Linked DNA regions of Homo sapiens: regions 1 and 3 are each linked to region 2. Evidence: promoter capture Hi-C in 16 types of primary human blood cells and fetal thymus (Javierre and others, 2016). All regions are on one chromosome and are shown on one strand. The core of a region is centred on a gene start or on the middle of the fragment in contact, and the rest is flanking DNA. Distances in the headings are between cores, read along the strand shown. Region 1 holds the start of LOC124903690 (a long non-coding RNA gene). Region 2 holds the start of LPCAT2 (lysophosphatidylcholine acyltransferase 2). Region 3 overlaps CHD9 (chromodomain helicase DNA binding protein 9).

Region 1 (3,235 bases), core at 611-3,110, 2.0 Mb before region 2:
GCCAACTGGCTCTCACACCTGCCCGTCAAAGACGTTCTTCCGGGGGCGTTGGGAAGAACACACTCGGTCCTGCAAATCAAATCACCCCGGTTTGGGTGGGACTGCACTTGACCCTCCCCTTACGTAACAGCGCCTGGGACGGCCTGTCAGTCATGGAAGTATCGGCCCCCCGGGGAGGGATGGGGCAGAGACAAACAAGCGCCGGGTCACAATTGGCCAGGGCGTCTGCCAGTCACCACGGAGACCTTCCCGGAGGTTTATTCGCACAGCCCACAGCGCAACCGCCATGCGCAGGGGCTGGGGCATACGCTAACGTCTGCAAGCCAAGCTTTTGGGGAGGGCCGGGCCGCGCGACTGCCCAGTGGCTCCCATCGCTAGGTCCTACTGCGTTGGGCGGCGCTGCGAGGCCCGAGGCCGCCACGTCGGGCCCACAGGGTACCAGGGGTCAGAAGGACACTTGGCGTGGCATCAAGAAACGCCCGTTCTCTCCATCAGTGCAGGAGCTGAAGGCTGGAGCTGAAGGGAGCTCAGCTCCAAGTGGGCCCTGGGCACTAGAGCAGCCAGAGGAGCTTTGTAAATCTGTGTGTGTCGGCCCCGACCTGCAGCATCCGAGTGGGGGCCGGGGGCTGGGGGGAGGGGGGAGGCTGAGGACCAGGAATCCACATCTGTCACAGTTCGCTGCTGATTCTGGCGCACACTGAAGTTGGAGAACCTCTCCCATAGCAACATAGTTCCTGGTCTTTTTTTTTTTTTTTTTTTTTAATTCACACGCTCTCATTTGGACCTCCCGTCTGCTTTCCCATGGAGGTCTCTCTCTGGCCTAATTCTGTGACTGCTGCCAGCTGCTTTCCAGGCCTGTTCTTACCAACGGTGCCTCCCCGTGGTTAGTCCGTCCAATCTCGGCACTCCACTTCCACACTTGCGCGACAGCCCTCTCCCCGCAAGCCCCTGCCCCTTTTCTAGACACCAGAGGCACTGACCTGTCTGTGACACCGCCTCAGTGTCTTACACTCAGAAGCCGCATTCTCTGGCCGGGTTGTTTGGTCCATTTTTGGTTGCCTCTGAGATTCTGGTAAGTGACTTATTAAAGGGCAGGAAGCCAAATTCTCCTGATGTTAATCCCAAGGGTTGGTTCTGAAACCCAGCTTCCTCCCCTAGCTGAAAACACTTCTGAGCCACTTCCTTTTGTCCCCTTAGGACACATTTAGGAATGTTATCATGCCTTTTAATACGAGTCTTAATACAGAAAGGCAGGCAAGCAGGAAATCCTTTTTTCAGGCCACAGGTGGTCTCCTTTGGCACCTCTGTGGCCCATTTCCTCCCAATCTTCTTTGAAGCTCATTATCCTCTGCAAAGCTTTTTTTCTGCTTTCCTCCTTTCCCCAACCTTCAGTTTTCACCGAGGACCCACATAGGTATTTCTCCAGCTCACATCTATCCACTGAGCTTCCAATGCATGTCATCAACTGCGTACTTGGCACCGGATGACTCAGACGCACACCAGCATCAGACTGCACATGGCAGGAAAGCCAACTCAAACCGGCTTACTTAGCAAGGGGATTTCTCTCCCATGGGAGGATTGTCTCCAGAGGTGGTGCCCTGGTCTTCAGGCTCTGCTTTCCTTGCAGTCCCTGGAATTGCACTTTCAGGCTGGTAGCAAGATGGCCGCGGCACACCCAGGATCTCACAAAATTAAAAGTATCCCTTTCTTCCAGTGGTCCCTTTTGAAATACATGACTACCTTTCCCAGAAGCTCCGCAGAAGAAATGCCTGCAGGTTTCAATGGCCAGAAGTAAGTCTCTGGCCACAACGAAACCCAGTCAACGGCAAGTGGAAGGAGTCCGCCATGATCGACTTGGGCTGAGATTTTCCCTAGATCTCTGCCTGGACTTTAGGCAGAGGAGAGCCATGATCAGATTTGTATTTTGAAAACATCACTTTGTGCGGAAAACAGATTGTAGGGGCACAAGGCTCACGGGGCAGTTGAGGAACCATGGCAGTAGTTCAGGCAACAGAGAATCGCATGAATTTGAAGGTAGAGATGGAGAATTGAATGAGTTCCAGAGATGTTTAAGACGGGATGATATAGTTTGGATATGGTTTGACCCTTCCAAACCTCATATTGAAATGTGACCCCCAATGTTGAAAGTGGGGCCTGGTGGGAGTATTTGGGTCATGGAGGCTGATCCCTCATGAAAGGCTTGGTGCTGTCCTGGCAGTAGTGAGTTCTTGGCAGTAGTGAGTGAGTTCTATTAGTTCCCGAGAGAATTGATTGTCAAAAAGAGCCTGTCACCTTCTCCTCCCCTGACCACTGCTCTCTCTCTTGCCAAATGATTCCTGCTGGCCTCTCCCTCTGCCATGAATGGAAGCTTCCTGAGGTCCTCACCAGAAGATGCTGGTGCCATGCTTCTTATACTTAGTTGCCTCTGTCTTTCATTTGACATATATTTATTGCATGCTTAATGACATCTAGGCTTTAAATGCTGGGGAGGCGTTGGAGAACAAAACAGACATTGTTCCTCCTCATGGAGCTACGGGAGATAGATGCTAATCAAGTCATCTCCCAAATCAATGGCTAATTGCCCCAAGGAAGTGGACAATGAGCTGAATAAACCTCTTTTTAAAAATAAATGACCCAGCCTCAGGTATTCCTTTATAGCAACACTGATGGATTCATACAGGTGGGGTGGACAGAGCTTGGCCATGGACTAGGTATGGGGGATGAAGAGGCAGATATGGCTGACACCTAGATTTTTAGCATGAGCTACAGGATGGATGGTGAGGCCATTCACTGAGGTGACAAACAGTGAACCACAAGCAGGTTTGGGACAGTGGGAAATGGGAAAATCTGGGTTGTGTTTTGGGTAGGTATGTTTGGGGTGTTTCTGTAAGCACTATTGCCTGTATACCTAATACCCACTTCTCCCTTTTTCATTGCTGACAGAACCTCCATTTTCTTGAGGAATTTAAGCCCTTCAGTGGTTCCCCATTGGGCAAAGACCAAACTCCTCACCATGGCTGTGTCCCAGCCCCAGGTGGCTGCAGACTCCAGCCACTCTGACATTCTTCCAGTTCCTTGGAAGGGAGTTGCTCCCCTACCTGCCCTGCCACAAAAGGGGCCTTCGCAGTGAACGTTCCCTTTGCCCAGTTCATTCTCTTCAATCCCCTACACAGATCTCAGCTCTAACACTACTTCCTTGGGGGCAATTTGCTGTTGATTTGGGAGATTATTAGTG
Region 2 (3,208 bases), core at 307-2,806:
CTGTCCCCTTGACTCAGATTCTTTTTGTTTCTTCTTCTTCTTTTTTTTTCTTTTTTGAGACAGTGTCTTTCTCTGTCACCCAGGCTGGAGTGCAATGGCATGATCATAGCTCACTGCAGACTTGATCTTCTGGGCTCAAGCAATCCTCCCACTTCAGCCTCCTGAGTAGCTGGGACTGCAGGCATGCAACAGCACAGCCAGCTAATTTTTAATTTTTTTTAGAGATGGTGGAGTCTCTCTTTGTTGCCCAGGCTGGTCTCGAACTCCTGGGCTCAAGGGATCCACCCTCCTCAGCCCCCAAAGTGCTAGGATTACAGGCGTGAGCCACTGCACCTGGCCTGGCTTAGGTTGTTGACAGTTGGAAAGACATCTTTCTGTGCAGGTATCTGGCTAAAGAGTCTCAAGGGTCTGCCAGTCCCAACTTGAAGACCCCCTAGACTGGGGAATCTTCTATCATGGCTGTAATGCACTGTTATTAATGTTCCCTGTTACACTGAGAGAAAAGTCAGTGGCTCCACAACATAATAATGCTTAAAACATGCCATTTCTTCAGTGTTTCTCTATGAACACTACACATGCATTATTTTATTTAATCCTTGCTACAATTCTATGGAGTTAGAATGAATCTCCCATTCCTAGACAAGGAAGCAAACTCAGGTTAAGTGACTGACTCAAGGCCACACATCTATGTGGTAGGGCTGGAAGATTCTGACATTCAGAGGGTAACTTTGGAGAACCCCAGGGCTCAGACTCAGATTTTCATCCTGGCCTTCCTACCTGCTGTGAGAAGAGTTGATCAGTTGGGATGAGTTGATTATCATCTCCTTCCTTTAACTCTCAGCCACTCAGGGTTGATCAACTGTCCTCAGATAATGGGACAAACCCCTGCCCTCCCACCCCCACGAGCACCCACATAGGTCCAAACAGGCTTGAACTTCCTCAGTGTGAAAGGGAGCCACAGCCCAATACATTTCCCTTTTCTGGGTCAGGTTCCTCATCTAGCGTGGAGGGCAACTGTAATTTTTGCCTTTTCTGGTAATAGTAGCTCAGTTTTCCTCTGGAGAACCATCTCTCCCCTGTCAGTCCATTATGTTTTGAGTGAAACAAATTCCACTCCTAGTGCCATCATGGGTGTATTAATATTAGCTCACTTAATGGAACAGCCCAGGGGAAGTGGTTGCTCAATGGCATTACTGGATCCAGGTTAGGATTATCTGAGAATACATTTATCTGCATTTTACGGAAGGCAACCGAGGTTCATAGAGATAGTGATTTGGCCAGCGTCACAGGCCCAGTAAAAGGGATTGAAAATCCAGGTCCGTCCGACCCTAAAGCAGGGAACTCTGCCTAGTGTCTCGCTGTGGAATGTTAGGGATCCTGGGGTACCCTTCAGGGTCTTGGCTCGGAAGGAAAACATTCCCCTCCGAGGGGATGGACTATATTACCAAGGGGGTGGAGCCAGATGCCTGAGGGGGTGTGGCCAGAGCCTGGGGCGTGTCACAGCCGAAGGGGCAGGGCGGCAGCAGCAGGCGTCTAAGTAACTTCAGCGCCTGCGCAGAGGCTCCCCAGCGTCGCCCTAGGCTGGGACTCTAGTAGGTCTTCGGCTCAGTTTTGGCTGCAGCGCCCGCGTAGATCGCTTCGGCCGGGTTCTACGCCCGGCTCAACTATGAGCCGGTGCGCCCAGGCGGCGGAAGTGGCGGCCACAGTGCCAGGTGCCGGCGTCGGGAACGTGGGGCTGCGGCCGCCCATGGTGCCCCGTCAGGCGTCCTTCTTCCCGCCGCCGGTGCCGAACCCCTTCGTGCAGCAGACGCAGATCGGCTCCGCGAGGCGGGTCCAGGTGAGGGGCGTGGGTCTGAGGGGAGAGGTGGTCTGAGGGGGGCCTAGGTCAGAGGGGGGTCCAGGTAAGGGGTGTGGGTCTGAGAGAGGAGGGCGGCCGAGGGGGGCGTGGGTCTGAGGGAGTGAGGTGGTCCGAGGCGGGCGAGAGTCTGAGGAGGGAGGTGGCCTGAAGGGGGCATGGGTCTGAGGAGGGAGGTGGCCCGAGGGGAGCCAGGGTCTGGGGCGGGTCCAGGTGACTGGTGTAGGTCTGACGGGGGAGGGCGGTCGAGGGGCGCGTGGGTCTGAGGGGCGTTGTGGGTCTGGGAAGCAAAGGCATCAGAGGAAGAAAGAGCAGTGGATCTGAGAGGAGAGGACTTCTGAGGGGCCGTGAGCCTGAAAGGGGCGGAGATGTGTGTCTGAGAATTGAGGACATTTAGAGGATGGTCTGAGCGGGCACGGGAGGAGAGAAGATGCTGGGAAGATGCGGGCCTGAGAGGAGAATCCAAAACAGGAAGAGACTGAGCTGGCTGGTGGCGCAGGCTACATTCCATGCCCCAGAAGGTTGAAGGAATCTGTGAATCTGTGACAGAAGCTTCAACTTGAGTTTATGAGAGTGTAGTGGGAGGCAGATCTACTACGGGAGAGTAGATTTGAAGAAGTCTTTTTTTTTTTTTTTTTGCCTTAGGAAGGAGAGGAGTCAGTATGGGATGGATAAGAGTGAGGCAGAAGGCAGAGAGCCTAGGTCTGTGGTTAGAACAACAGGTAAGGCTGGAAAGATTTAGCTGAGCAGGAGCATGATGGAGGGTGGGAAGTCAGAATCAAAGAAAAGGGACAACTGAGTCAGCTTAGGATGTTCAAGAAGTTTTGGTCCAGAATCAGTCTTCACCTAAAAACGTTTCCTAAGTTGAAGCATGAGAAGTAGTAGCCCAGGCTGTTTTCCATTGTTAAAAATGGCTATACTGTTATGCACAAAGGAAGTTTCCTTTCCTTTCCTTTTTCTTGTAAAGGGTTCCTTTTACCATTGGCAGTTGCACTCTTTGGACTTCCTCTTTGTTGAAGTTAGTGATCAGAGAACAAGATAGACCCTGCTAACCACATTTGTCCGTGTGTTCTGCGGGGGTTGGGGGGGTGGGGGAACAATTTTGAAGTTTTCATGTCCATCTCACACATTACTTTGGATTTGAAGCAGTATAATATTTGCAATCAGCTTGTATGCACTAAGACCATTGTCCTCTACAGTGGGGGAAGGTTAAGTGCAGAGCTAAACAACACAGGTGGTGGCTTGAGTAATGGTAGATGGGTGTCTGGTTGAAGAGGGGTGTGAGAGAGGAAGAAGATAAAGAATGTAGTAATACTGCTTTGTGAGGAAATTAAACGTTTAAAAATGTGATCC
Region 3 (3,140 bases), core at 398-2,897, 2.4 Mb before region 2:
CCAGGGCTGGTCTCAAACTCCTGAGCGCAAGCCATCCTCCTGCCTTTGCCTCCCAAAGTGTTGGGATTACAGGCATGAGCCATTATGCCCTGCTGCATCTGCACTTTAATATTGGATTCTTGAAGAGTGAGAAAGATATCAAAATTCAGTGACTCTCATCATTGCCTCTCAGGCACTAGGGCCACCCCTATGTTCCATTTTTAGGTGGTGAGCCTCTCTGAATCTGCAAATTCATATCACTTTGGTCACAACCTATTCAGCTAGCTATGTGGCCTTAGGAAAATCACTGACTTCTCTGAATCGCATTAACTCATCTGCAGAATGTGAATAACAATAGTACCCCCATTTATTGGGTTGTTGTAAAGCTTAGATGGGATTATCTATTACAGCCCTAAGCACTATGCGTGGCACATAGCCAAGATGCAATTAATGTTAGGGATTATCATCATCATCATTATTTTTACTCTAATCTGTCATAACCCAATTCGCTCATTCAAGAACTATTTATTGAGCACCTGCTATGTGCCAGGCATTGTCCTTGACCCTGAGAGTAGGGCAGTGAAGGAGTCATACAAGGTTCCTGCCTTCTAGGGGCTTACATTCTAGTACAAATGTACCACACCTTTCTGTTTGATAAGCACTTTCTTCCCCATTGTGTCATGTTGTTCTCACTAATGCCTTTCAATCAGGCAAAGGCGGTATGATTGTCCGCATTGTACAGATAGAAAGCTGAGGCTTAGAGAATTAAGCTAACAGAGATAGCTAGAAAGTGGCCAGGTACAACTTGATCTAGGGTCCTCCTGGCTCGTTTCTGTGCTCTCTCATGATGGACACTGATGATTGTTTTGGGGTGAGGGGCATGGAAGCAGCTCTCAGAGCCTTGAGAGCTCTGACCCACCAGCAGAAGCACAAAAGAGAACCAGGGACTGGCTTTGGTTCGATTGCGAGTGTCCCAGTTAGTTCTGTCCATGAAGTCTGTCAATGACTGGGCCTAACAATGTGTGCCTCTGCCCGGTGTCAGCCTTGGGGGCCTGGAGGAGACTTTATCTTAAGGAAAAAGTGCTTGCTTCAGCACATGGCCAGTGGGGCCTGGCTGTGACAGCAGGCAGCTCTGCTGTGGCAGCTCAGCTGTCTGAGAGCACTTCCCCTTGGGTTCCCCGCAGAGCAGGAGAGAAGGTGTCTAGGCCTATGGGCTTGGTGACCAAACTGCATGGTTTCTGGTAGTGTGCCTGGAACTCCTGCTGTGCAAGATTTCCTATATACACCCAGCATCCGCCTAGTCTGGGCTGGGCGGGGCAGGGCTGATCCTGTCTGAGAACACAGGAACTGGAAGTCTGTACCGGGGCAGGTGGCAGGGGCAGGCCTGGCAAAGACCCAGGGAGAGGACACCAAGGGCCAGCCACCGCACAGAGAGACCAGTGACTGAACATGGCTGGGCCGGGGTGTTTCCCAGCCCCGTCACAGTGAAAACTCACCCGTACCCGGTGACCCCAGGTGACAATTCTGAACCTGCAACAGCAGTGCATAACTGATAGTGTCACCTCTGCCTAATCCTCCTGGAAACACACACACACCCTGCTTTATTTCCCGTCTCTCAACACCCTTCCTTATGGGTACTTCATACCAGTCCCAAGAGCAGGCTTTTGTTTACTTTTTCTTTTTTTTTTTTTTTTGAGATGGAGTCTTCCTCTGTCGCCCAGGCTGGAGTGCAATGGTGTGATCTTGGCTCACTGAAACCTCTGCCTCCCGGGTTCAAGTGATTCTCCTCCCCCAGCCTCCTGAGTAGCTGGAATTACAGGCATGCACCACCACACCCCACTAATTTTGTATTTTTAGTAGATACAGGGTTTCGCCACGTTGGTCAGGTTGGTTTTGAACTCCTGACCTCAGGTGATCTGCCCGCCTCAGTCTCCCAAAGTGCTGGGATTACAGGCGTGAGCCACCGCGCCCGGCCTTGTTTTCCTTTTTACTGAATTTAAGTGCTTAGGGTTATTCACAATATTTGACTCATGACATTCTTTCATCTTCAGTTGGACCTTGTGCAACCTGCATCTGGTAATTTGTTATTTATCTGTTTGTGTATTTCCTTATAATACAGTCACTCCACTGCACGTTCTTCCCCTGTGTCCTCCCTTCCTATTACTTTGCCTTCCCCACCCTATTCTGAATATTGAGTTCATCATTCCTTTGCTCCTCTAAAAACTAATGCTTTTTCAAATATTTTTCTAAAAGCCATATTGTTTAGATTTGTTGTTTTTTCTTGTGTAAAGGAATATCCTGGCTAGGCGCAGTGGTTCATACCTATAATATCAGCACTTTGGGAGGGGGAGGCAGGAGGATCACTTGAAGCCAGGAGTTCAAGACCAGCCTGGGCAACACAGCAAGACCCTGTCTCTACAAAAAAATTTTTAAAATGTAGCTGGGCGTGGTGGTGTGTGCCTGTAGTCCCAGCTACTTGGGAGGCTGAGGCAGGAGGATTGCTTGAGCCCAGGAGATTGAGGCTGCAGTGAGCCATGATAGTGCCACTGCACTCCAACTTGGGCAACAGAGCAAGACCCTGTCTCTAAAAAAAAAAATTAAAATTAAAACAAAAAAGAATATCCTGCTATATGCAGCTTTCTTGGGTATACTTTTTTCTCATAATATTATGTGGCTAAAACTCACCCATAGCGTAGCATTCAGCTACGGTCCACTTGTTGTCCCTGCTCTATTGCAGTTCTCCCTAGTATGTTCCATGGGAATTTACTGAATCTCCTGTTAGTGGACATTTGGGTTGTTACCAGCTTTCCATGACTTTGAACACGCTAAGCTGATCATTTTTGTCTGTGTCTCCAGGGAAACAATGTGAATTTATCAATTTACAATCCCAGTAACAACAAACATATAAATATCCAATTGATCTGTGTTCTTTCCAACAATTTGGTATTATCAAGCTTCTTAATTTTTTCCAACTGAAAGGGTATTAAGTGACATCTCATTGTGATCTCTTCATGGTTATTGCCTTTCCAAATATGGTTTACAGTGGTCAGTTGGTGGAGCAGTGGGGGTCATCCTGCAAGGGGACTGTGAAGATTTTTTTTTTTTTTTTTTAGAGATAGGGTCTCTAAAACTCAGGCTGGATTGAGTTCAGTGGCACAATC

What was found. The method cuts DNA at HindIII sites, captures the fragments that hold promoters and counts their contacts. A CHiCAGO score of 5 or more calls a contact.
Region 1: a fragment that was not itself captured here is called in contact with the fragment with the promoter of LPCAT2 in region 2 in 1 of 17 cell types (endothelial precursors); the score reaches 5.1 in endothelial precursors.
Region 3: a contact is called between a fragment that was not itself captured here and the fragment with the promoter of LPCAT2 in region 2, in 1 of 17 cell types (M0 macrophages). The highest score is 7.0, in M0 macrophages.

The regions. Positions count from the first base shown.
Region 1 is chr16:53,503,349-53,506,583 of GRCh38, forward strand. It overlaps LOC124903690 (a long non-coding RNA gene), which reads left to right and starts at 1,032. Exons shown (of 2, transcript XR_007065069.1): 1 at 1,032-1,072; 2 at 1,393-2,630. It also overlaps a transcript of AKTIP not described here. RefSeq lists enhancers at 1-58, 519-618 and silencers at 1-218, 939-1,028. The HindIII fragment of the contact is 1,012 bases long and covers 1,355-2,366 here.
Region 2 is chr16:55,507,516-55,510,723 of GRCh38, forward strand. LPCAT2 (lysophosphatidylcholine acyltransferase 2) reads left to right here and starts at 1,557. Exons shown (of 14, transcript NM_017839.5): 1 at 1,557-1,837. The coding sequence starts at 1,667. The HindIII fragment of the contact is 4,685 bases long and covers 1-2,405 here.
Region 3 is chr16:53,092,985-53,096,124 of GRCh38, forward strand. All of the region lies in intron 1 of CHD9 (chromodomain helicase DNA binding protein 9), which reads left to right. Among named protein-coding and RNA genes, the nearest start is that of CHD9, 40 kb to the left of the region's middle. The HindIII fragment of the contact is 2,568 bases long and covers 364-2,931 here.